Regions from separate parts of the Homo sapiens genome. Here all the other regions are linked to region 1. The links are contacts of gene promoters, found by promoter capture Hi-C in blood cells and fetal thymus (Javierre and others, 2016). All regions are on one chromosome and are shown on one strand. The core of a region is centred on a gene start or on the middle of the fragment in contact, and the rest is flanking DNA. Distances in the headings are between cores, read along the strand shown. Region 1 holds the start of THBS4-AS1 (THBS4 antisense RNA 1). Region 2 overlaps TENT2 (terminal nucleotidyltransferase 2). Region 3 holds the start of FAM151B (family with sequence similarity 151 member B). Region 4 holds the start of CMYA5 (cardiomyopathy associated 5). Region 5 overlaps ZFYVE16 (zinc finger FYVE-type containing 16). Region 6 has its middle 4.0 kb from the start of ZFYVE16. Region 7 has its middle 24 kb from the start of SPZ1.

Region 1 (3,486 bases), core at 423-2,922:
CCTCCCGGGTTCAAGAGATTCTTGTGCTTCAGCCACCTGAGGAGCTGGGAGTATAGGCAGGAGCCACTGCACCTGGCCTAATTTTTGTATTTTTAGTAGAGATGGGGTTTTACCATGTTGGCCAGACTGGTCCCAAACTCCTGACCTCAAGCGATCCTCCCACCTAGGCCTCCCAAAGTGCTAGGATTACAGGTGTGAGCCATAGCACCCCACCCATTTTCACTTTTCTTACTTCATTTCTTATGCAAGAAATTTTCTGAAAGCCTCAAGTTTTCTACATCAGCTTCAAAAATATAAGGAGGGCCAACTAGGAATAGGACAAGGTAGAATAATCACTTGTGTGCTGATAAATATTTAACAACCAGTTCTCTGGAGCCCTGATTTGTAGTGTTTGCCAGTTTCTGTGTAAATACTCCCACCATGGCCAATTTCAAACTACCAACCGTTTAACTGGCTCACAATATTCCTAAAACTTGAATAGTTGGCTCTTATGAGCTGGTAGGAGTTGGCTTCAGCACACTGCTGGTTCTACATGCGTCTTTGTTTCTTGTTTTGCATAAATAACAAGTTTTGTCTTCCCAAAAATGTAATAAGCTCCCTAAGGGATGGAATTATGTTCTGGATCTCCTGTGGGCCCATGGTTTCTAAAATAGTTATAGACACAAAAGATTTAACCAAGAGAGTCTGTTTCCTGTGGACATACTGCGTTCTTGGGCTTGCACAGCCGACAACAGGGAGGCTGCCCCAGGGGTGGGCATGGTGTGGGTTGCTGCCTCCTTTCACCAGCCTCACTCTCATTGCCCAGGCTGGAGTACAGTGGTGCAATCTCTGCTCACTGCAGCCTCTGCCTCCCCAGCTCAAGTGATTCTCCCACTTCAACCTCCCAAATAGCTGGGACTATAGGCAAGTGGCACCACACCTGGCTAATTTTTGTATTTTTAGTAGAGATGGGTTTCGCCACGTTGGCCAGGCTGGTCTTGAACTCCTGGCCTCAAGTGATCTGCCTGCCTTGGCCTCCCAAAGTGCTTGGGACCACAGGCAAGTGCCACCACACCTGGCCCCATTGGAGTTTTTGATGTAGGAGATCAGATGTCCTGGATTACAAGGCCACACACATCTCCAGGCTGTACATGAGAGGAGGATGTCCAGAAATCCTCCAGATCTCATGCATGCACCATTGTATTTTCTCACTGTTAAAGTCATGATAAAACTGTGGTGTTTTTTTCTTCATACATGATTTAATATATCTCTAGGAATTCTGGAATAAGAAAATATATAACCGCACAGCAATATTCTTTGAAACAAAATTTCTAGAGAATTTATAAAAATTTGCTTGGATCTTGATTTACAATTGAAATACAAGAAAGGCTAGTGTACAAATTAGGCAAGTTTCTGTGCTGTACATCCAGCTACTGGTACCACAAATAGAGGATATGTTGTGACTTTTTGAGTTGAGGAGGACTTTTATGATCATGTACACTCTACTGTCCTTTAAGAGGCATTCATTCATTCATTCTTCGTTTATTAATTCAGTAAACATTTACTGGCTATTTACTACATTCCAGGTACTGTGGGGATATTGATTGTAATGACATGATCCTTTATTGTCAATATGCTTACAGTCCACTAGGGGGAGCCAAATATATAAATAAGCTTAAGAATTACGTTGAAGGGGCCAGAATAGAAGTCTGTGGAAGGTGTGGGATGGGATGACAGCATCAGAAAGAATTGGGCAAATCTGTCCCAGGACTAGGTCAGAAAAACGCCTCCCTAGGGAAGGTGCCACCCCAAACACGTGTTTCTGAGACCCCTTACCCGAAATAAGGAGGCTGCCAAGGTGAGCATGGAACGGTTAGGCGTTTTGTATGGAGCAAACTGGGGGGACCCCAGCTGAGACCTCTGGCCTGGGCCTTGTGATTCACGCATAGGCTCATCTTATCGGCCACCGGGTCTGAGAAGAAACTACCACCCTGCAAGTTAACAGGGATCCCTCCGAGAACGGGCACCTCAAAGCCTGAGCCACGTGAGAGCAATGTCTGAGCAACACGGTTTTTAAAAATGATCTCTTCTCCTTTATTGCCACATTCACATAAAACGTTTTGATATATTTGGGTTGGTAAAAGCTAAAGAAAATTGAAGTTAAAATATATATGGTTTTAGTGTTCCGAAAAGCAGTTACAGATTGCTTCCTTGGTTTAATTATCGAAGCGGTCGAAATTCTGGGTTTGAAACTCTTGGAAGTCCTCAGGGATGGTGTCTGCAATAGGAATGGGCACAGGGAGGTTAGCGAGGCTCCTTCCACCCCGGACCCCGGACCCCCGCCCGCGGCTCAGGCGTCCTGTAGGGGGCGCTGTTAGCCCGCCCAGGACGCCCCGCAGGCCCTCGCCGCCATTTTCTCCTGCAGGCTGCTTTGCAAACCGTTGGCTTAAAGCCCAGGAGTGCTCCTTCCCGGCCGTGCAGAAAATCAGCAGGCAGAATGGATTTTGCATCTGTGATTATGTTTTAACCACATGAAAATAAAGGCTTCCTGTAAATTAAATCTGACTGGATTTCTCACTGAACCCCAAACCCTAAACCATGCAGTTAAATTCTATGGGTCTTAATTTCCACATGGATAAAATAGGATAAATGTGATCTGCTTTTTACTTCTGGTACACAGGGACTATCAGGTTTTAATGACTATGTGGTATGAGCGTTGGGCTTTTGGGGGGGAAGTGCGGTATAAAAATAAGGTGGCAGTGTTTGACTAATTCTAGTAACAATGTTGAACAGTAACGAGAATGCACATTACCATTGCAGCGATACTTGAGGTTGGACCAGATGATGTTTTCTTGAGAGAAGCAGAAAACGCCAAGTCGGCCTCCACGCATTGTGGTGTCTATGGTGACGCCAGAGTCAGCCACCAACTCAGAGCCTTCATAAAATCGTACCCTGCGGACAACACGGCCGGAGGGGCCTCCATGAAATCCAACCCGGGGTAAAGTGCCCACTGTGAGGCCCAGGGGCCCCACTTCTTATACGTACCTGCGTCTTTCTTTGCTCTGTTTTAGGCTCCATTTTTCGCTGACCTGGATTGTACTGTAGCTGTTGCCACTTACTTACTAGACTGGAAGTCCTTGAGGGCAGGGACCGTGTGTGTCCGTGTGTGTGTGGAGGGGGGTGGGGGGTGTTTCTTCCCAACTTCTGTCTCTCACAAGGCCTAACATGATGTTGGTCACACTATCAAACTTGAGTTAAAAATCAAACCAAACCAAACCTGCTATCTTGAGTGAGAAAGTTTTGTGTCTTATTGTCATGTGAGTTGCCTTGTCTAGATACCATGCTTAAAAACTTTGGCTTTTCCTTTGGTCTGATTTATATCTTTTGGTGGAATCTCAGAGCAATGATTCTCCACAGGAGACAGCACTCCCTAAGTAGAGTTGGAGGAATCTGTGGGGACACTTTGGGTTGTCACAGTGGCACTGAGTGATGGCAGCCAGGGATGCT
Region 2 (3,486 bases), core at 325-2,824, 410 kb after region 1:
GAATAAAGAATGCCAAAATAAATCCATACATCTACAGTGAACTCATTTTCAAAAAAGGTGCCAAGACATACACTAGGGAAAGCACAGTCTCTTCAATAAATAGTGCTGGGAATACTAGATATCCATATGCGAAAGAATGAAACTAGAACCCTATCTCTTGACATATACAAAAAACAAACCAAAATTGATTGAAGAATTCAATCTAAGACCTCAAATTATGAAACCACCACAAGAAAACATTGGAGAAACTCTCCAGGACATTGGTATGGGCAAAGGTTTCTTAAGTAATACTCCACAAGCACAGGCAACCAAAGCAAATGGACAATGGGATCACATCAAGTTAAAAAGCTTCTGCATAGCAAAGGAAACAATCAACAAAGTGAGGAGACAAACCCATAGAATGAGAGAAAATATTTGCAAACTACTCATCTCACAAAGGATTAATAGGCAGAATATATAAGGAGCTTAAACAACTCTATAGGAAAAAATCTAATAATCCAATTAAAACACGGACAGAAGATCTCAACAGACATTTCTCAAAAGAAGGCATACAAAGAGCAACGAGGTATATGCAAAGCTGCTCAACATCACTAATCATCAGACTTAGGCAAATCAAAACTGCAATGAGGTATCATCTCACCCCACTTAAAATGGCTTTTATCCAAAAGACAGGCAACAATGAATGCTGGCAAGGAAACCCTCATACCCTGCTGGTGGGAATGTAAATTAGTACAACCATTATGAAGAACAGTTTGGAGGTTTCCCCAAAACTAAAAGTAGAACTACCATATGATCCAGCAATCCCACTCCTAGGCATATACCCAAATGAAAGAAAATCAGGATACTGAAGACATATCTGCACTCTCATGTTTTTGTAACACTATTCCCAATAGCCAAAATTTAGAAGGAACTTAAGTGTCCATCAACAGAGGAATGGATAAATAATAGGTGGTACTTATCCACAATAGAGTACTATTGAGCCATACAAAAGAATGAGATCCTCTCATTTGCAACATCATGGATGGAATTGGAGGACATTAAGTGAAATAAGCCAGACACACAAAGACAAACTTCACATGTTCTCAGTTATCTGTGGGATCTAAAAATTAAAACAATTGAACTCATGGAGATAAGAGACTAGAATGATGGTTACCAGAGGCTGGGAAGGGCAGTGGCAGGGAGAGGCGGAAGTGGGGATTGTTAATGAGTACAAGAAAATAGAACGAATAAGATATATATTTGATAACACAACTGGGTGACTATAGTCAATAATAATTTAATTGTACATTTAAAAATAACTAAAACAGGATAACTGGATTGTTTGTAATGCAAACGATAAATGCTTGAGGTGATGGATACCCCATTTACCCTGATGTGATTATTATGCACTGTATGCCTATATCAAAATATCTCACATACCCTATAAATATACAAACCTATTATGTACCCACAAAAAGTAACAAAACAGAAGTATTTCAGCAGCAAGGTGTGAGTGAAGTAGGTAAGAAAAATAGTTTTTTGTTTTTTTTTTTGAGACAGGGTCTCACTCTATTGTCCAGGCTGGAGTGCAGTGGAGCAATCTCAGCTCACTGCAACCCCCACCTCCCTGGTTCAAGCAATTCCTGTGCCTCAGCCTCCCAAGTAGCTGGGTTTACAGGCATGTGCCACCACACCTGGCTAATTTTTGTATTTTTAGTAGAAAGGGGGTTTTGCCATGTTGCCCAGGCTGGTCTCAAACTTCTGGGCTCAAGTGATCTCCCCTCCATGGCCTCTCAAAGTGCTGGGATTACAGACATGAGCCACCACACCCGGCCGAAAATAGTAATTTTTAAATGACCATATAAAACTTCTGCAACATTTATACCATATACTCAAGCATCCCTTAACAGTCACTTAATGTTTTGTCTTTCAGAAAAAAGAACTTTTGGCTAGGCGCGGTGGCTCACACCTGTAATCCTAGCACTTTTGGAGGCCGAGATGGGTGGATCATTTGAGGTCAGGAGTTCAAGACCAACCTGGCCAATATGGTGAAACCCCATCTCTACTAAAAATACAAAAAAATATTAGCCAGGCATGGTGGCACGCACCTGGAATCCCAGCTACTCAGGAGGCTGAGGCAGGAGAATTGCTTGAACCCATGAGGCGGAGGTTGCAGTGAGCTAAGATCGCACCACTGCACTCCAGCCTGGGCAACAGAGCAAGGTTCTGTTTCAAAAAAAAAAAAAGAAAAAGAAAAAAGAACTTTTTAAATGATTACCTCAAAGTTCAGAAGAAATCCTTATAGACATTTTTAACAATTGCCATAATTCTTTTATACAGCTTCTAGTTTATTACCATGACTACATTCTTGGCTGTGATCCCCACATTTCAAATTTCTGAAAATATCTCATATGAAATGACAAATGTACTAGATGGTGAAGTTCTGAAACCTCTTTCCAAGCATCAGTATCATCTGACCCAGCAGACTAGTTTCCTTTAATATTAAATTAACATACAAACCTACACATCCACTATCTTGTTTCTGTTCAACAAAGCAGGTGATTTTCAAGGTATTTGTATACAGATGCTCTAATCCTACACTATACATGGGAAAAAAGTTATCTTTGTTCTGTGAATCCTTTTCCCCCTCCACAAACATCCCCCAGTCCCTAATTTATATAACATAATAAACAATGTCAATACAGTCTAACAATTAAGAATGTAGTTTTGGAGTCCAGCTTGAAAGTGAATCCCAACTCTCCCACAATCTAGCTGTAGATTGCCATGGGCAAGTTTCATGTACACAAATTCCCTAAGCTTGACAGAGGTTATTATGAGGATTAACTGAAATCCATGGGAATCACTCAGCTTACTACAGCACACTAGATAAATTCTCACTAAACATTAGCTATTGTTATTGCAATATCTTAAAGAGAACTCTAGAATAACCATTAAACCTTCACAGTCTATTTATGTACTATGTCTCATCCAGTCTTTAATCTTTCTTCATCTTAATATAAATGAAAGCTCCGTGGCCGAGCACGGTGGCTCACACCTGTAATCCCAGCACTTTGGGAGGCTGAGGCGGGCAGATCACTAGGTCAAGAGTTTGAGACCAGCCTGGCCCATATGATGAAACCCCATCTCTACTAAAAATACAAAAATTAGCCAGGCGTGGTCACGGGTGCTTGTAGTCCCAGCAACTTGGGAGGCTGAGGCAGGAGAATTGCTTGAACCAGGGAGGCAGAGGTTGCAGTGAGCCGAGATCACGCCACTGCACTCCAGCCTGGGCAACACAGTGAGACTCCGTCTCAAAAAAATAAATAAATAAATAAATAAATAAAAGCTCTTACCTTTTTATACTTCTCCAGTATGACAGTTAAGTGTGAATTCTGTGTCAAAGCTATCTGAAATCCTTTTTTCTTTTTTTTTTTTTGAGATAGAGTTTCGCTCTTGTTGCCCAGGCTGGAGTGCAATGGCACAATCTCAGCTTACTGCAACCCCCAC
Region 3 (3,486 bases), core at 700-3,199, 400 kb before region 1:
TGTGTGTGTGTGTGTGTGTGTGTGTGTGTAAGGGGGAAAAATGACATATAACGGAAGAATCTGGTTAAGAATTAGTTTTATCAATAACTCGGTAATGAGAAGAAATTTTTGTTTTTGTTTTTGTTTTGAGACAGTTTCTCTCTGTTGCTCAGGCTGGAGTGCAGTGGCGCAATCTTGGCTCACCGCAAGCTCCGCCTCCCGGGTTCACGCCATTCTGCTGCCTCAGCCTCCTTAGTAGTTGAGACTACAGGCGCCGCCACCACGCCCGGCTAATTATTTTGGATTTTTAGTAGAGACGAGGTTTCACTGTGTTAGCCAGGATGGTCTTGATCTCCTGACCTCGTGATCCGCCCACCTCGGCCTCCCAAAGTGCTGGGATTACGGGCGTGAGTCACCGCGCCCGGCCCAAAAATTTGTTTTTTAAAAAATGGCATTTGTCAGCAATTGGACATTTTTCACTTGTGCACACATTTTATTCCAAGATTTTGTAAACCTTGCATCGATTCAGAAGAGAATCTGGATTTATACAGCCTGTGAGTGAGAATGGTGTAAGTCTTGAGTGTGAGCTTTGTCCCAGATTTGTTTGGATTCTTAGGAAAACTAGGCATTAAAAGGATTTATACTGAGAAGAGCACAAGGGTTAAAAAAGGAAAACTCTGGTCTGAAAAAATGTTCTACGGAGGTTTAGCACAGATCTTAAAAAAGAGAGAGAGAAAAAAGTTCACATCCTTTGATCCAGTAATTTCAGTTACAAGAATCGTGTCCAGGATAAAAACAAACCAAAAACATAACTGAGGAAGAACAATGCAAAAATGTTCATTACAGAATGAATTCTAACAAAACAAAACAAAACAGGAAACGACTGATTAACGTTCAACATTAGGAGACTGGTTAATTACAATATAATTGTATACAATATAATTGTATAAAACACTTCAGTCATTCAAAATTATGTTTATAAAAACCTTGGTGACATGGGATAGTATAAGATGCAGGATTTTAAAAATTATGTTTACCATGACCTTAACTCTATTTTTAAGAGTCAGGGTTGTTAGAAAATACCAAAAAGTTAGTAGTGGTGCCTGTGGGTATCAGCATTTGGGGGATTTTTTTTTCCTATTTCCCTATACTAATATACTTTATAAATGTTCTATAATGGCATTTATCAGGACCTGGACATTTTTCGCTTACACACACATTTTATTCCAAGATTCTGTAAACTGTGCATCGATTCAGAAGAGAACCTGTATTTATACAGCCTGCTAGTCAGAATGGTGAAAGCGTGTATTATTTTTACAATTAGGGAAAAAAATCTAAACTGAAGAAAGAACGCGTCACTGACGTTGTCTCATGCCACTACTTAAGTTTACAGAAAAGATACTGTAACCTTCAAGAGCGGAACTGCTGTCCCGCGAGTTGAAGCACCTGATTCCAAGGGGAATCAAGCGAGCCGCACACTCTGCCAGCTTTCCAGGCAGCGCGCTCAGCAGCGGGACTATGCCGGGCCCGGCCCAGTCCGCATTCCCAAACCTCCCCCAGCTTTCAAAGAGGAACCTACTGACCCAGACCGCCCCCATACGGTCGGCTGAAATTAAGGATTAGGGAAACGTCACATTCCTTTCTTTCCAACCCAGACCTCAAAAGACACTGACCCTGCCATTCTCGACCTCCCCTAACGCCTGTCCCTTAGAGCCCACCCGGCAAACCAAGGTCCTTGCCAGGCGATCGCGGGCGCGCCCCGAGTGCAGAGCGGGCTCCAAGCCCAGCCGCCCGGTTCTGCGCGGCGCGCTCCCAGGTCCCTAGCAAGGAAGACCGCGGGAGCCCGCAAAGGGAGGGTACGGCCGGCGGAGCCTCTCAAAGCGCCCCACCTCCAGGCAGAGGCCGCGCGCTCGGCGCTTACCTGGGCCTCCAGCGGATGCTGCCATGGTGACGACGCCCGCCGTCCGCGCAGGCGCCCAGGCTGGCGCCCCTGCTAACCGGGCACTGGTGGCAGGGAAATTCGACTCCACAAACCACAGGCCTCGGCGGGGGAAGAGCCCGGCGGGCGCCAGCGAAGCGGAACCAAACGGAGCCGCGGCACGCAGGCGCAAAGGCTGGCGTTCGAGGTTCGTTTACGCGCCGCTTCGCCGTGCAGGTGGTGGCGAAGCGCTCCTCCGAAAGGTTTCGGAAGCTGGTGGTAGCTCTGAAGATAACGCTGCGTTAGGGCATACTGCGGCGGAGGATGGAACTCCGATTGAAAGCAGTTGCTGGAGTGGAGCACGAATTTCAACAGTTGGGTATATTTTCTTTTAAATGTTAGTAATATCCTAAAAGGGTGTGGAATCATTACTGATAAAAATCAGTGTTTCTGGCCGGGCACGGTGGCTCAGGCCTGTACTCCCAGCACTTTGGGAGGTCGAGGTGGGCGGATCACTTGAGGTCAGGAATTCGAGACCATCCTGGCCAACATGGTTAAAACCCGTCCTTACTGAAAATTTAAAAAATTATCCTGGCGTGGTGGCGCGCGCCTGTAATCCCAGCTACTCGGGAGGCTGAGGCACAAGAATGGCTTGAACCGGAGAGGTGGAGGTTGCAGAGAGCCGAGATCGCTCCACTGCGCTCCGGTCTGTGCGATAGAGCTAGACTGTCAAATAAATAAATAAATAAATAAATAAGTTTTTGTACAAAGTTACCGAGCTGATAACTTGAAGTTTTCTCTCCCCTTCTGTCTCTCTACCAGTGTTCACTCAGAAAACGCTCTCAGCAACTGGGTCCTCCCATCCACTGTCTTTCTAGCCCTCCTTAACTCATTACTTTTTGAAGCCAAACTAGTGATCAGAATTAACAACAAAGCTCTGCCATTTTCAGCTTCTGTGACCAAAAAACTCAATCTGCCAGTGGTAGAGTTAGGATAACTAACATCACCTGACACGTAATACAAAGGGGAGTTATTCTTGCCCAGCCTTTCAGATAAAATATTTTTCATCACTCCAAAGCAATCACTCTCCATTTACCCCCTTCCTACCCCCAGGCAACAACTCATCTACTTTCTGTCTCATGAATTTGCCTATTCTGGAATTTCATGTAAATAGAATCACAGACTGTATGTATGATCTTTGTAACTGGCTTCTTTCACTTAGCATGTTTTCAAAATTCACCCATGTTTTAGCATGTATCAGTACTTCCTTCCTTCTTATGCTGGAATAAATTCCAGTTTGTAAATACCACATTTTATGTGTGTCCATTCAACAGCTGAAGGACATTCGGGTTGTTTCTACATTTTGTCTTTTATGAATGCTGCTGCTGTGAACATTCATGGACAAGTTTTGTGTGGACGTATATGAATACATTCCTGTGTGCATATCTGTGTACATACCTAGGAGTGGAACTACTTGTTCATATAGTAACTGTTTAACTGTGTGAGGAACTGCCAGTTTTGCAAATCAGCTGTACCATCTTTCATTCCCACCAGCAATGTATGAAGATTCCAATTTCCCCACATCCTTA
Region 4 (3,486 bases), core at 727-3,226, 390 kb after region 1:
ACCACCTTGGCCACATGTTCTCAGGATCTCCTGCAGGCCGTGTCACAGGCCATTGGTCACTCATATTTGGCTCAGAACCAATCTCTTCAGATATTTTACAGAGTTTGATGCTTTTTCGTCGATACGTGTTTTTCCTAAATCCAGAAGTTTTGCTGACTTCCTGTTACCCTTGTCATCCAATAAAAAATAAATTGGATGCTTTTTCCAGGCCTCCATTTTCCATATTCCCTCATGTGTCCCTCCACTCTATTTATTCTGACCTCTTTCCCTGGTGTCCACCTTACTGTCTGTAGTCAGAACAGGCTGAAGTTTACTGCAGACAAATCACATCCTTTTCTGAAGGCCTTGACCTTTGTCAAATGGCAATGCAACCCCAGAGTGAATGGTCAGCTGCTCACATTTTAGTGTAAATGAGTTTTCAGATTCTCTTGGTTGTAAATTGTGGTTGGGCAAGGATATGAGGATCCCAGACAACAGTAAGGGAAAGGTTATAAAAGCTGAGTTGACAGACTTCCCCTTCTCAACACTGCCAAGGGATCACAGGTCCCCTACTCCCTGATCCACTTCCTACAGGTGCCTTCTCCTCTGCTCTTCCTGTTTGTAGTCCCTGCCCACTACTTCAAGGCAGCTCCAGCCCAACACTCCCTCTTCTGCCCTTGCACAGTACCCATAGTCCTCCCTTCCACCTCTATATAGTCTCACACTCCCCATGTTAGGGAAACGTTTCCCCATAGGGGAAAAAGTTAGGGAAACTTTTTCCACAAGGTCCTTGAGGCCAGGGACTGTGCTTGCTTCCCACTTGGCAGCTGTTTGATAAACAGGTGACATACATTCAGGACTTCTTGTCTGACCATCCATCCTCCTCAATGCCCCTCTATGGGCTACTTCTTCAACATCGGCTCTGCTGGCTTTGATTAGGTAAGCTGGGCGTTCTGAGATGGTACACACCCACCTGCCACCTTCAAAGCCTTTCTACTGTTATGAACAGACTGAGGAAGAGACATCACTGACTGACACACAGTCAGGAAAAAACCCAAAACTCATACTCAAGGAAAACAAGTGAAGGTAGAAGCTAATCCAAATAGACATTAGATGATTTCTATTATTCTCATTTTAGGGCCTTCTTAAAGGGACGGAGGGTGGGAGATCGAAGGGTGGGAGGTGCATCTTTTGTACATAGTATTACTTCATCGCATTCACGGAAACTGATATTTGGGATTTGGGACCAGGACTTGAAGAACAGGGATTACTGAAACTCATGCTTCTTTTCCCCCAAAGAATTTATGGGCCTTTGTATCAAAATAAGGTCACCTTATTGCAGCCTAGCCTACTGCTAGGCCCCCGGGGAGACCGCCATTCATCGGAAGGTACCAGTGCGCCTTCACCGCCTCCACCCCACCCCCTTCTCCTCTAGCGCAGGATTTCGCGATTGTTCCTGTGCCTCGGGCCAGATGTACGTGTTCCAGCACATTTCGGCAGTTATGCAGGACCTAAGTAAATCCTCAGGAATAAACAAGAGCAGCGAGTCACAAGGAGCTGGGGGCGGGGGTAATGAACTCTGCTGCAGGCGGGCCTGTCACTCCAGCTGACAGCGAGCACCTTCACCTTCAAGTTCTTTTAAACGACAGTGCACCCAGAGAGAAAGTGCCTAGCTCGAGGCAAACGAACCCCAGAGCTTAAAAACTTAAAGCAAACAAGCAAGGGTGCTGCTAGCTGCCCTGCAGGCCCTGGGCCGAGGAGAGAGGCTCGCGCTACCTGGAGTCCGGCTCCTCCTCCGACTCCGCCGCCGTCTCGTCCTCCTCGCCCTCCGACTCCTCCTCGGTCTCCAGCTCCCGGGTCGCCTCCTCGTCCCCGTCGGAGCCGAGAAAGCTCTCGCCAGCGTGGTTGCTATCGCGGCTCGCCATCGCCTCTCCCGGGCCTGGGCCGGGGCCGGAGCCGGAGCCGCCCGCGCCGCGCCTGGTGTTCTCCCTCCGACTGCTCTGGCCCCTGCCCTCCCCAGCCCTGCCCCTGCGGGGGCGGCTCGGGTTCCCGGCGCCGGGGGCGGGCGAGCCCCGCGACTTTAAATAGAAGGCGTCAAAGTTTCGCCACCGAGCTTCTGGGGCCCGGGCTCAGCTTCTCCTCTTCCCTGAGCCCTCCCCCGCCCCCGTTTCGCCAGATCCCTGGCGGGCCTTTCGGACAACTGGAGATCACTTTAAGGGGCGCGGGCTCCGGCTGCACCAGGGGGTTCAAAGGAGGAAAGGCAACCTAGCCCCGTCTCTTATTTCCTCCAGAGTGAGTCTTTTCGGTTTTGAGCTGAGCTACTTTCTGGACCCTTTATCCCAAACAATACCCTGAGCTGGGCACTTAACTACCAGGCACTCTGCTAAGGGTCTCGCTTTCATTACCTCGATTCTGTGGTGGTACCTGTAGAAGGTTTTACTGTAGTGCTGGTTTCCCAGATGAGGAAACTGAGACTCCGAAGAGCTCCAGCAGCTCAGGCTGTCATTGCTAGTAAAATGACCCAATGAGAAACAAAGCTAGGCGTGCCCTGCTCAAAAGCCCAGTTTTGAACCAGTGTTCCGTCCCGGCTCTCTTTATATCGCAAGTCAATATACTGTGTATTTTCTTGCTCAGTGGTCCCTGTTATTGAGCCAGGAAACTTTATCTCCACTCATCTTAAACCTTGAGGAGGAGCAATTTCCCCCACGTTAGCAAAAAGCTAAGTTTTGTCTGAAACTGGCCCAAATGCCCCAAACCTTTCCCCGGATCAAGTTGTGGTTAAAACCCCTCAATGGCTTCCCACTGCTCAAAGACTGAACCCCAACACCCTCACAAAGGTAACGGTTGCCTAACAGGCCATGTTTTACCTGTCTACTCTTTTTTTTTTTTTGAGATGGAGTCTTGCTCTTGTCGCCCAGACTGGAGTGCAATGGCGCGATCTCGGTCCAGTGCAACTTCCACCTCCTGGGTTCACGCGATTCTCCTGCCTCAGCCTCCCGAGTAGCTGGGACTACAGGCGCGCACCACCATGCCCAGCTAATTTTTGTATTTTTAGTAGAGACGGGGTTTCACCATATTGGCTAGCCTAGTCTCGAACTCCTGACCTCAGGTGATCTGCCCACCTCAGCCTCCCAAAGTTCTGGAATTACAGGTGTGAGCCCCCACGCCCAGCTGGTCAGGTGTCTTTAGAAGTCAGGAGTTCCCAACATTGTCAAGTCACTCCACTGTGTCTTTATTAACACAATTCCTTCTGCCTCAAAGGTTGGTCCCATTTTTACCAGGATACCCATCATTCAAGATCACCACCTTTCACTGAAATCCCAAAGTTAAACTCAGTACCTCTCTTCCAGGTTCCCACATAATCCTATATTCAAATTATGTTTGTATCTCCTTCCCCAGCAGACTTCGTAAGTTTACTACTCTTCTTTGTCCCATCATCCCCATCTCTTACAAGCCTACACACTAGCAAAGTAGCTAGCACATAGCAGGTACATATAATGGATGCTC
Region 5 (3,486 bases), core at 728-3,227, 370 kb before region 1:
AATATTACATTAAAATAATTTAATGCGGCTGGGCGCGGTGGCTCATGCCTGTAATCCCAGCACTTTGGGAGGCCGAAAAGGGCAGATCACCTGAGGTCAAGAGTTTGAGACTAGCCTGGCCAACATGGTGAAACCTCGTCTCTACTAAAAATACAAAAATTAGCCAGGTGTGGTGGCAGGCGCCTATAATCCTGGCCACTCAGGAGGCTGAGGCAGAATTGCTGGAACTCAGGAGGTGGAGGTTCCAGTGAGCCAAGATCGCGCCACTGCACTCCAGCCTGGGCGACAGAGCGAGATTCTGTCTCAAATAAGTAAATAATAAAATAATTTAATGTTTTTATTAATAATTGATGGAGTATTGTACTGTTTTAAATGTTTGTGCCTATATTAGTGAGGGTGTAGGAAATCAAACATTCACTACTGGTGACACCACAAATCAGAACAGTTTTTATGGAGCCCTAACTTGGCATTTTTCTATTAAAATTACAAGTAAATGTATCCTATGACACACCAATTCCACTTTTGGGAATTTATCTTACAGATAGGTTCAAATGTGTACAAAACGGCATGTATACAAAACTATTCACTGTAGCATTTTTATAAACAGCCCCTAAGGATTGGTAACAAATTATGCCCATCAATAAGGGACAGTTAAATGATGTACAACATATAAAATGTAAAGTTCTGTAGAATATAAAAGCTCCTTATACACAAACATAGAATAATCTCCAAAGTGTGTTAACAACAACAAAAAAAACAAGGTATAGAATGGAGCAAATATTATGACTTGTCTATAAAAGTGGAAGAAAGAGGTAGATATGTGTGTGTGTTTCTTGAATATATATTAAAGCAAAAATGTCTCTGAAAGGATATATAAGAACTGATAACATTGGTTTGGTTGCCTGTAGGGAGAGTAAGAGGATGGCTGGGTGGTCAAGGGAGGAAAGGAGATTTTTCACTATAAATATTAATAACTTTTTAATTTTACCACATAAAAATATACCTATTCAACAAATAAATATTAAAAATTGTTAAATTTTAGTGGCAAAAATGCCAATATCATGTTAAGTGATAAAGTATAATATAAAAGTGTAAATATCCAGTATAAAATCATCTATTTAACATATACATTAATATAAGAAGGAAATACAGTAAAATGTCAATAGTGACCATATCTTGGCACTTTTCCCTTTTACCACCTTTTTTTTTTTTTTTTTTTTTAGACGTAGTCTCGCTCTGTTTCTCTGTCGCTCAGGCGGGAGTGCAGTGGCACGATCTGGGCTCACTGCAAGCTCCGCCTCCCGGGTTCACGCCATTCTCCCGCCTCAGCCTCCCAAGTAGCTGGGACTACAGGCGCCCGCCACCACACCCGGCTAATTTTTTGTATTTTTAATAGAGACGGGGTTTCACCATATTAGCCAGTATGGTCTCAATTCTTGACCTTGTGATCCGCTCACCTCAGCCTCCCAAAGTTCTGGGATTACAGGCGTGAGCCACTGTGCCTGGCCTCTTTTACTACTTTTCAAAATGTATTTTCCAAGCTTACTACAAATAAGTATATATTACTTTTATAAGCAGAGGAAAAAATTTTATTGGCAGCCAGAATGTTGGACTATTTTAAGTATGGTATCCTATAATAATATATTAATTTTATGAAATGCTTCCATTTAACTTTCAATTTGTTAGGCCTTCTACTGCAAGGGTTTGGTAATCATAGCAATCACTGAAGCCATTCAGCCAGAGCTGAGAGTAATGTCATTCATAGATGCTGTTTGTTACGTTTTATAAATCAATCTTATCCTTATCACCCTGTGCTCCACCAACTAAGAGGAGTTGGAGCAGAGGGTGAACAAATGTGAAAAGAAATACCTTATTTCAGAAAGAAATTACTCAAAGAAAGACTCTCACCCTACGGGATATACTAAACCTAAAGATGTCAAAAGGAAAACAGTCTTCCAAGTCTGTAAGCCTAAAGTAGCCCAAGAGAAAAACAAAAATTAGAAGCAATTTTAAAATCTGTTGTGTAGCTGAAATTTCAAAACATATTGTTTTATCACCAACAATTCAGCAAATAAGTAAATATACATATATTTCCCCTTTGAAAGGAATTCTATTAATTGAGGTGGTTTTGTAAATTAGCACTAGGAACCAAGATGCTCACCTTTTCTAGGATGGCCAGTGGCACTGTTGGCCTGTGTTTCATAAATTCCATCATTCTGTATACAGACTAGATGAGAATCTGCTTCTGTACTGAAACTTGCTCCAATGCTAATGACATGCTCATTGGAAGAATTTAGTACTTTCATTACCTGGAAAAAAACAAAAACAACAACATTTATTTAGAAACACTTTTAATATTATATGCCTATTCTAAGAGCCACGTTTCTGGCCAGCTTCATAATTATCAAGCTTCGGTCTGGACAGCTCCCTGGGAATGTGATGGAAACAAATGTTTTAAAATAAAAGCACTTCAGTTGAACAGTAATCACCTCAATAAAACAGTACGAAAAAAAAGAAATATGATCAAACAGATTATTTACAGTAAACAAATTCTATCATTTCAAAAACAATGTTTGTTGCCATAATACATTAGATAGTCTAATTCAAAACAAAAAATTTAATGTGACACAATTCTAAGGGAACTCTAATGTTCAATAATTGTCATTTGAATAAAACAATTATACTTACATCACTGTACTTTTTCCGTGGTATTTTTATGCAGCTTTTTCCCATTTCCATATGAATCAACAGTTGATCTATATTATGCAAGGTATACTGGTAATTTCGAAGGTCCTACATAGAATAATTGCATTACCATAAACTACTAACCATGAGTATTTTTCTATCCATTAAATCCTTCTTTAAGAAATCCTTCTCCACAGCAGTAATAAAGAATATCATTCTCAGGAAAAACTTTGTAGTATTTAGGGTAACTTTCTAGTTACAGAACTTCCAAAATAGAAAAGGTCTTCAAACTAGGCATGGATAAATAAAAGTGAGTCCACTGAAACATTTTTCTATGGTAACAGGGAAACACAAAATTACAAAAAGTATAGGTGGAAGGGAACTTTAGATATCATCTAATCCAACACTTCCTATTATAAATGAGAAAACTAAGGCCATAATTTGCTCAAAATCACAAGACTGACTGACTTTACTAATACATTTACAAAAGTTTCAACAACTTTAAGAGGTCTGTATAGAGTTCTTACATTACCTAAATATCCAAGAACTGCAGGAGAATGAATCAAAAGGCACTTAGAATCAGGTACACGTACATGAGGAGATAGTACGTTCTAAAAAGCAATTCGTCAAAAACTGAGCACTAATGTTAAAATAATTAGGATTTATTGTAAATGAATGGTCATTATACCAAATATGGCAAATTAAAGTAGGAAAATATAAATGTATAAACTTTGCTAAATACAGTTTTAAAGTAACAGTATAAAAATACCTAATAAAATAGTTCAATTACTCACAACAAGT
Region 6 (3,486 bases), core at 680-3,179, 320 kb before region 1:
ACAAAGATTTTGGAAAGTTATTTGTCAAATCATATCAAGAACCTTATGAGTGTTCACATGACCCAATTTGATCATTTCTCTTTTGGAAGTTATAAGAAGGTAGTCCAGAAGACGAAGATCTCTATGGAAAGATACTTAACCATAGTAAGTAAATTGATAAAAGTCGAAAATCCACCATTAAGAGAATGGTTAAAATAATTACTGCATGTATGTGATTAAAACTATTAAAATTATGTTTACAAAGAATTTTTAATGGCCTGAGGAAATTACCTCATGAAAAAACATTTTAAATATTTAAAAATATTTAACATTGCCTATGTAGTATGAGGTCAGCTATAGTATACAATGTATGTAAAAGAGTGAAGAAAGTATATCAAAATGTTGATAGTAGTCATGTCTATCTGATTAGAATGTAGATGTTATTATCCTGGACAGTCTACATTTTCTACAACATCTATATATTACCTTTATATTCTGGGGAAAAAGAAAAAAACCTCTAATGTAACAAGTGTGATAAGTTGACCAGGAAACCTAAGAATCCATTTCCCCTGTCATTTCAAGTATGGTCTTTAGAGTCTGATTACCTGAATTTGAATTCTAATTCTATAACCTATTAGTTGTGTGGCCTAAATTTTCTAAGCTTGATGCTCCTGTAGTCAAATGCTAATAGAACTAATACATTGATTGAGATAATCCACATAAAGTACTTAACTGAAGCACTGACTGTAAATGATGAATAACTGTTATTCTTTTTTTTTTCTTTTTTTGACAGGATCTTACTATATCACTCAGGCTGAAATGCAGTGGTTGGATCATGGCTCACTGCAGCCCCAACTCCTGGGGCCCAAGTGATCCTCCTACCTCAGCCTCCAGAGTAGCTGGGACCACAGGCGTGCATCACCATGCCCAGATAATTTTTATTTTTATTTTTTTAAAGACAAGGTTTCACTATGTTGCCTATACTGGTCTCAAACTTCTGGGCCCAAGCAATCCTCCCAATTAGAATTCAAATTCAGGTAATCAGGTAGTCAACCTCCCAAAGTGCTGGGATTACAGACATTAGCCACTGTGCCAGCCTAACAATTGCTATTCTTGATGGTTATATTTCTTTTTATAAATTGATCAGTTACATCCATGTTGTTATATCAGTAGCCTATGAATTTGGCTAATGCAAGTATAAGTTCCCTGGAGCACAATTACTTGCAAATACATTTTAAAACTGAATTTCTTAGTCTACTAAACTGAGAATAAGATACAGGGACTTGATGACCACTCCACATGTTTGTCACTATATGAAGACTCGTTTGCTCTGTTTTTGTTTCTGTTTTTGTTTTTTAAGGAGAATTAATAAGTTTGTTCATATAAAATTTGTAGCCTTTGATTACCTTTTAATGCCAAATGTCTACTAAAAATTTAATCTGCTAACAAAGCAATTGCAATACTTTTAGTAGATGTTTAGAATTATAATAACCTTTCCTAATTATGCTTTGAAAGAGTATTTAATTTGGGTTCCACAAAACTTCTGATCTATAAAGTAGTAAAAATAGATGAAATCAACCAACAAACCAAAGTTCAAATCAATGACTACTACTTTAGCCCAATAGTTCTCTGTGGAGGTGAGGGGTGATTTTGCCTCCCAGAGGACGTTTGACAATCTCTGGAGGCATTTTTGGTTGTCACCACTGAAAGAATGCTACTGATATCTAATAGATACAGGCCAGGGATGCCGCTAACTGTCTTGCAATTCACAGGAGAACCCCCAACAACAAAGAAGTTTTCAGCCTAAAATATCAACAGTGCCAAGGTTGAGAAACCCTGATTTAGCCAGTGAGTGGTTTAAAGCTAGTATATTTCTTCCAATTCCTAGTAAACAGTTCCTTTTTTTTTTTTTTTTCTGATGACCACAGCGGCACAAATGTGAGTTCAGAAATTCAGAACTGGGTTTTGAACTTCTACATAAGGCCCTATACCAATGAAAATTAAACTTTGTACCAAGTAGTACCCAAAGTTAACTAGATTAGAGATAAAAAATCTACAATGACCAGTTTTATGGAGCAGACAGCTGGTCAGTTGTACTCTGGCACAGAAAAATGCTCCATTCCTATTGTTCAGTTGCACCAGACACACGTATCATCACTTATTACTAAGAACCACTTTATAAATAGCTGTCATTTATTGATCACCTACTGTTTTCAGCCTTTATCTTATAAGTAAACCAGGTGTTCTCGCAGTATGAACATTGTTGCTCATCCATAAACAAAACCTGAAGTTCAGGATTTCTCCCTGCTGTTATAACTACTTTGTTAAGTACAGGCTGTTATAACTACTTTGTTAAGTACAGCAACACTTACTGGTCAAGGCCTTTATCAAAACAGCAAACTGAAGAACACACTCTCAACAGCCCATTCTCCTTTTGTACAAAGTGCTATAATTTAGTATTGGTTCTTGTGAGAGAGGCTTTTCAATTCTCTAAGGAAAGTTTTAGTTGTGGTGCTCAGATAATCGCTGTAGATCCTTGTATTTAATACAGCAACTGTATTTACTTAAAGTTATAAAGTCAAAAAGCTCAAATAACCAATATTTTTTCTGAGTTCTTTAGAAATATATGACAAACAATAAATTAATGACATAGCAATGATTTGTTGATAAACATAATAAATCTTATGAGCTTTCTATATCAACAGTAAAAAAGAGGAATAACTGGTGTTTAATTCAACAAACACTTATTCATTTTTTTTTTGTTGTTTTGTTTTGTTTGGTACAGGGTTTCACTCCCATTGCCTAGACTGGAGTGTAATGGCTCGATCTCGGCTCACTGCCGCCTCAACCTCTGTGGCTCAAGTGTTTCTCCTGCCTTAGTCTCCCAAATACCTGGGACTATAGGCGCATGCTACTGCACCTGGCTAACTTTTGTATTTTTTGTAGAGGCAGGATTTCGCCATGTTGCCCATGGCTGGTCTGGAACTCCTGGGCTCAAGCCATCCACCGACCTTGGCCTCCTGAAGTGCTGGGATTAGAAGAGTGAGCCACCAAGCCCAGACAGTTTATTAAACATAATTGCATTGTTTTTCCTATTGATCTTGCAGTCATTGCAAGATCTTGCAGTGCTTTTGAATTGACAAAGAAAATAGAGATAAAGTTACATGAATTTTTAGAATTAAATTGTGTTTTATTATATTAAGGTGATTTCCTTAACCATTATAATAAATGAAAGCTTATTCAATTAACCTGGTCCAACCCCTCTCTACACATATATTCAATAAGCAAAAAGAAATGGTCAGTATGGCATGAACCTTAAATTATTTTTTAAAACCAATTGTTATTTTATAATACATTGATTATATTATTTTGTTAACAGATTCAACAATTGTAGCTATGTTAGCTAGTGGTTTCATGTTATTTTGTAACATGTAGTTATGTTACTTTGTAGATTCATGTTACTTTATAACACTAAATACAAGAAATGTGGCTTAGTTTTTGGCTTTG
Region 7 (3,486 bases), core at 717-3,216, 260 kb before region 1:
TACCCCCCTATTTTCTGAGACCTAGGAGCCCAGAATTCTTGTGTAATTCCATTGAGGTAAAGAAGGAGCCCCTAACTAACTGAGGCTGACTTTGTCCCTCAGTTTCACCTCAAAGCTGATTAAGTTTGATTTAGGGAAATAAGGCTCTGTGGCTTTTTGCCTCCTACTGTTTAGCACCCACTAAATATGGTTTTGGTTTTTGGGGTTTTTTTTTTGAAGACAGCATCTCCCAGACTAGAATGCAATGGCACAACCAGGGCTCACTGCAGCCTCAACTTTCTGGGCTCAAGTGATCCTCCGCCTCAGCCTTCCTAGTACCTAGGACTACAGGTGTGTGCCACCACGCTCGGCAAAATTGTTTTAAAAAAATTTTAGTAGAGATGGCGTTGCACCGTGTTTCCCAGGCTGGTCTTGAACTCCTGGACTCAAGTGATCCTTCCACCTTGGACTTCCAAGGTTCTGGGATTACAGGCCACTGCAACAAGCCACTAAATATGGTTTTAAATTTCTCAATAAAGAAAAACGGAATAGAGTAGGAATACTGCTTGCTCTCTGTATAAGCATTCTCAACTACCTTGATTAGTATTTTCTCTTCCTGGAGTGTGGTGATCAGTAAATCTTAAATTTATTTCTTCAGATCAAAAGTAGACTGTAATGGGCACAAGATGTGTTTTTTCCCTGTCTACTGTTTAATCTAGTTTTTTGTTTGTTTGTTTGTTTTTTGACGAAGTCTTGCTCTGTGACCCAGGCTGGAGTGCAATTGTGCAATCTGGGCTCACTGCAACCTCCGCCTCCCGGGTTCAAGCCATTGTCCTGGCTCAGCCTCCTGAGTAGCTGGGGTTATAGGTGCCCGCCACCACACCCGGCTGATTTTGTATTTTTAGTATAGACAGGGTTTCACCAAGTTGGCCAAGCTGGTTTCAAACCCCTGACCTCAGGTGATCTGCCTGCCTCGGCCTCCCAAAATGCTGGCATTACAGGTGTGAGCCACCGCACCCTGCCAATTGTATTTTTAGTAGAGACGGGGTTTCACCATGTTGGCCAGGCTGGTCTTGAACACCTGACCTTAAGTGATCTGCCCACTTCAGCCTCCCAAGTTGTGGAGATTACAGGTGTACACACACAGACACACACACAATGACAGTTAAACAGTTAAAGAAAAGTATGCACTAAATGGAAAAAGGGACTCTTTATGTGTCTGCTTCCCCATTAAGGTCTTACAGGGTGCTTGCAGTGGTTCCAGTTTACAAAGGGACTAAGCTTATGTAGGACTTTATTCTCTCTGTGGCGTTTTCTCTCTCTTTATGACCATTTCTATCCAGTGTCCTTTTAAGGTCAAGGGCTCCTAAACAAGCTCTCTGGCCTTTGTTAGCTTGATGACAGTAAGTTTCCTCATATGCTTTTTTCCAAAATGGAATTTTCATCCTTTTAATCTGTTTTTGCAGTTTTGTTGATGGCCTATATCCCTATTGAGTTCCTTTCTGAGCTTTTCTTGTTGCCTCTATATTTGAAACTGGAGACATTGAAACATCTCTTGGAATAAGAATAACACTATTATGCCAGGTGCAGTGGTGCACGCCTGTAGTCCCAGCTACTCTGGAGGCTGAGGGAGGAGTGCCTGAGGCCAGGAGTTTAAGGCTGCAGCAAGCTATGACCGCACCTGTGAATAAACACTGCACTTCAGCCTAGGCAACATAGTGAGACCCCCATCTCTAAAAAGTACAAAACAAAAAAAGAATAACTCTATTAAATTTTGTATATATAGACTCAGTGGGCTCTGTGGCTATTCAGATCCAGAAAAAGGACTGTCTTTAGATCAACAAGTTTTGAAAGTAGAGAAAGGATATTCAGTCACTCCTAAAAACACTGGTGGTGATCACATTGTCATTTGTGTAACTTTGCCCATAAAGCTGAAAGCAAAGACCCTTCCTTTGACCATGTTAAGACAGAAAAAGAAGATGGCTATCTACAAGACTAGGAGGGAAGCCTCTGAAGAAACTAACCCTGATAACACCTTGATCTCAGGTGTCTGGCCTCCAGAATTGTGCGAAAATAAATTTCTGTTTTGTTTTTTTTGACGGAGTCTCGCTCTGTTGCCCAGGCTGGAGTACAATGGCGTGATCTCGGCTCACTGCAACCTCCGCCTCCCAGGTTCAAGCAATTCTCCCACCTCAGCCTCCTGAGTAGCTGGGATTACAGGCATCCACCACTAGGCCCAGCTAATTTTTGTATTTTCAGCAGAGGCAGGGTTTCGCCATGTTGGCCAGGCTGGTGTTGAACTCCTGACCTCAGGTGATCCACCTGCCTCGGCCTCCCAAAGTGCTGGGATTACAGGCGTTAGCCACCATGCCTGGCCAAATTTCTGTTGTTTTTTTTTTTTTAAAAAAGACAATTCCTTAACTCCCCATTCTTTCTCTTTCTCTTCTTAGGAAAGACCTCATTTACTGCCTGTATTTCCCCACCTTGACCAAAGCTGTCATCCAGTTAGGATTTCAGCCAGTTACTCCATTAAACTGCTTTTAACTGCTCTTGGTAATGTCACAATGACCTCCAACTTCTAAATTCAGTGGATATTTTCCGTTCTCATCTTATGTGGTCTCTCAGCATTTGATAAACCTGACCACTCATTCCTCCTTGAAACAGTCTCTCTCTTTGATTCACCTGGAAGCTTCTTCAAGTCTCCCTTGAACTCTTCCACTTTTATCAGATTATTTCATTTTGGAGGTCCTCAAAGCTCTCTGAATTCTCCTTTCATGATGTCACACTAGTCTAAATGATTGCGTCCACTACCATGGTTTAATGACCACTTACATGTTGATGACTCACAAAGTCATATCCTTAGGCCAGGCTCTGCTTCTGATCTCAGGATCACATATTCAGCTGGTTGCTGGACAATGTCAAGAGCTACGAATGGCCTGAGATTTTACCTTAGTTTTAAGTTAACTAATTAACCTGACACAATTTTATAAGCTCTGCCAGAAGACATGAGACTCTTGAGTCAAAAACAAACAGCGGGCCAGGCACAGTGGCTCACGCCTGTAGTCCCAGCATTTTGGGAGGCCGAGGCGGGCGGATCACCTGAGGTCAGGAGTTCGAGACCAGCCTGGCCAACATGGCGAAACCCCATCTCTACTAAAAATACAAAAATTAGCCGGGCGTGTTGGTACACGCCTGTAATCTCAGCTACTCAGGAGGCTGAGGAAGGAGAATCACTTGAACCCAGGAGGTGGAGGTTGCAGTGAGCCAAGGTCATACCACTGCACTCCAGCCTGTGTAACGGGAGCAAGACTCCCTCTTAAAAAACAACAAAAACAAAGCAAGCAAACAAAGGGCTTTGTTATTCACAGAAGAGGAAGCATGAGCCTCATGTTTGCATCTGTGCATTTACCACCAAGACTCCACAGTGGCGACAGAAAGTTGGGCTCAGGTAGATGCTGCACAGTCTGTGGGTTTGTCTCATAGCTAAGGAACCCTGAACTTACCTGA

What was found. Contacts are between HindIII fragments. The CHiCAGO score rates a contact against its expected background, and 5 or more counts as called.
Region 2: a fragment that was not itself captured here is called in contact with the fragment with the promoter of THBS4-AS1 in region 1 in 2 of 17 cell types (M1 macrophages and M0 macrophages); the score reaches 5.9 in M1 macrophages.
Region 3: a contact is called between the fragment with the promoter of FAM151B here and the fragment with the promoter of THBS4-AS1 in region 1, in 2 of 17 cell types (neutrophils and monocytes). The highest score is 12.3, in neutrophils.
Region 4: the fragment with the promoter of CMYA5 here is called in contact with the fragment with the promoter of THBS4-AS1 in region 1 in 10 of 17 cell types (megakaryocytes, M1 macrophages, M0 macrophages and 7 more); the score reaches 15.1 in megakaryocytes.
Region 5: a fragment that was not itself captured here is called in contact with the fragment with the promoter of THBS4-AS1 in region 1 in 1 of 17 cell types (neutrophils); the score reaches 5.5 in neutrophils.
Region 6: a fragment that was not itself captured here is called in contact with the fragment with the promoter of THBS4-AS1 in region 1 in 2 of 17 cell types (monocytes and neutrophils); the score reaches 7.2 in monocytes.
Region 7: a contact is called between a fragment that was not itself captured here and the fragment with the promoter of THBS4-AS1 in region 1, in 5 of 17 cell types (neutrophils, monocytes, M0 macrophages and 2 more). The highest score is 7.3, in neutrophils.

The regions. Positions count from the first base shown.
Region 1 is chr5:80,081,851-80,085,336 of GRCh38, reverse strand. It overlaps THBS4-AS1 (THBS4 antisense RNA 1), which reads left to right and starts at 1,672. Exons shown (of 8, transcript NR_109930.1): 1 at 1,672-1,837; 2 at 2,800-2,977. THBS4 (thrombospondin 4) reads right to left here. Exons shown (of 22, transcript NM_003248.6): 21 at 2,792-2,931; 22 at 2,050-2,257. The coding sequence ends at 2,196. RefSeq lists silencers at 944-1,158, 2,274-2,363. The HindIII fragment of the contact is 5,954 bases long and covers 1,656-3,486 here.
Region 2 is chr5:79,670,149-79,673,634 of GRCh38, reverse strand. The region is part of intron 12 of TENT2 (terminal nucleotidyltransferase 2); the gene reads right to left. Among named protein-coding and RNA genes, the nearest start is that of CMYA5, 18 kb to the left of the region's middle. RefSeq lists an enhancer at 710-1,283. The HindIII fragment of the contact is 2,448 bases long and covers 351-2,798 here.
Region 3 is chr5:80,486,563-80,490,048 of GRCh38, reverse strand. FAM151B (family with sequence similarity 151 member B) reads right to left here and starts at 1,949. Exons shown (of 6, transcript NM_205548.3): 1 at 1,901-1,949. The coding sequence starts at 1,925. It overlaps FAM151B-DT (FAM151B divergent transcript), which reads left to right and starts at 2,103. Exons shown (of 3, transcript NR_172938.1): 1 at 2,103-2,271. RefSeq lists a silencer at 1,385-1,679 and enhancers at 1,344-1,843, 1,844-2,345. The HindIII fragment of the contact is 15,498 bases long and covers 1-3,486 here.
Region 4 is chr5:79,688,326-79,691,811 of GRCh38, reverse strand. It overlaps CMYA5 (cardiomyopathy associated 5), which reads right to left and starts at 1,976. Exons shown (of 13, transcript NM_153610.5): 1 at 1,756-1,976. The coding sequence starts at 1,904. RefSeq lists an enhancer at 1,965-2,466. The HindIII fragment of the contact is 6,464 bases long and covers 1-3,486 here.
Region 5 is chr5:80,455,768-80,459,253 of GRCh38, reverse strand. It overlaps ZFYVE16 (zinc finger FYVE-type containing 16), which reads right to left. Exons shown (of 19, transcript NM_001284236.3): 12 at 3,480-3,486; 13 at 2,689-2,793; 14 at 2,162-2,309. Among named protein-coding and RNA genes, the nearest start is that of FAM151B-DT, 30 kb to the left of the region's middle. The HindIII fragment of the contact is 868 bases long and covers 1,544-2,411 here.
Region 6 is chr5:80,402,354-80,405,839 of GRCh38, reverse strand. No RefSeq gene overlaps it. Among named protein-coding and RNA genes, the nearest start is that of ZFYVE16, 4.0 kb to the left of the region's middle. The HindIII fragment of the contact is 2,574 bases long and covers 643-3,216 here.
Region 7 is chr5:80,342,609-80,346,094 of GRCh38, reverse strand. No RefSeq gene overlaps it. Among named protein-coding and RNA genes, the nearest start is that of SPZ1, 24 kb to the right of the region's middle. The HindIII fragment of the contact is 1,408 bases long and covers 1,263-2,670 here.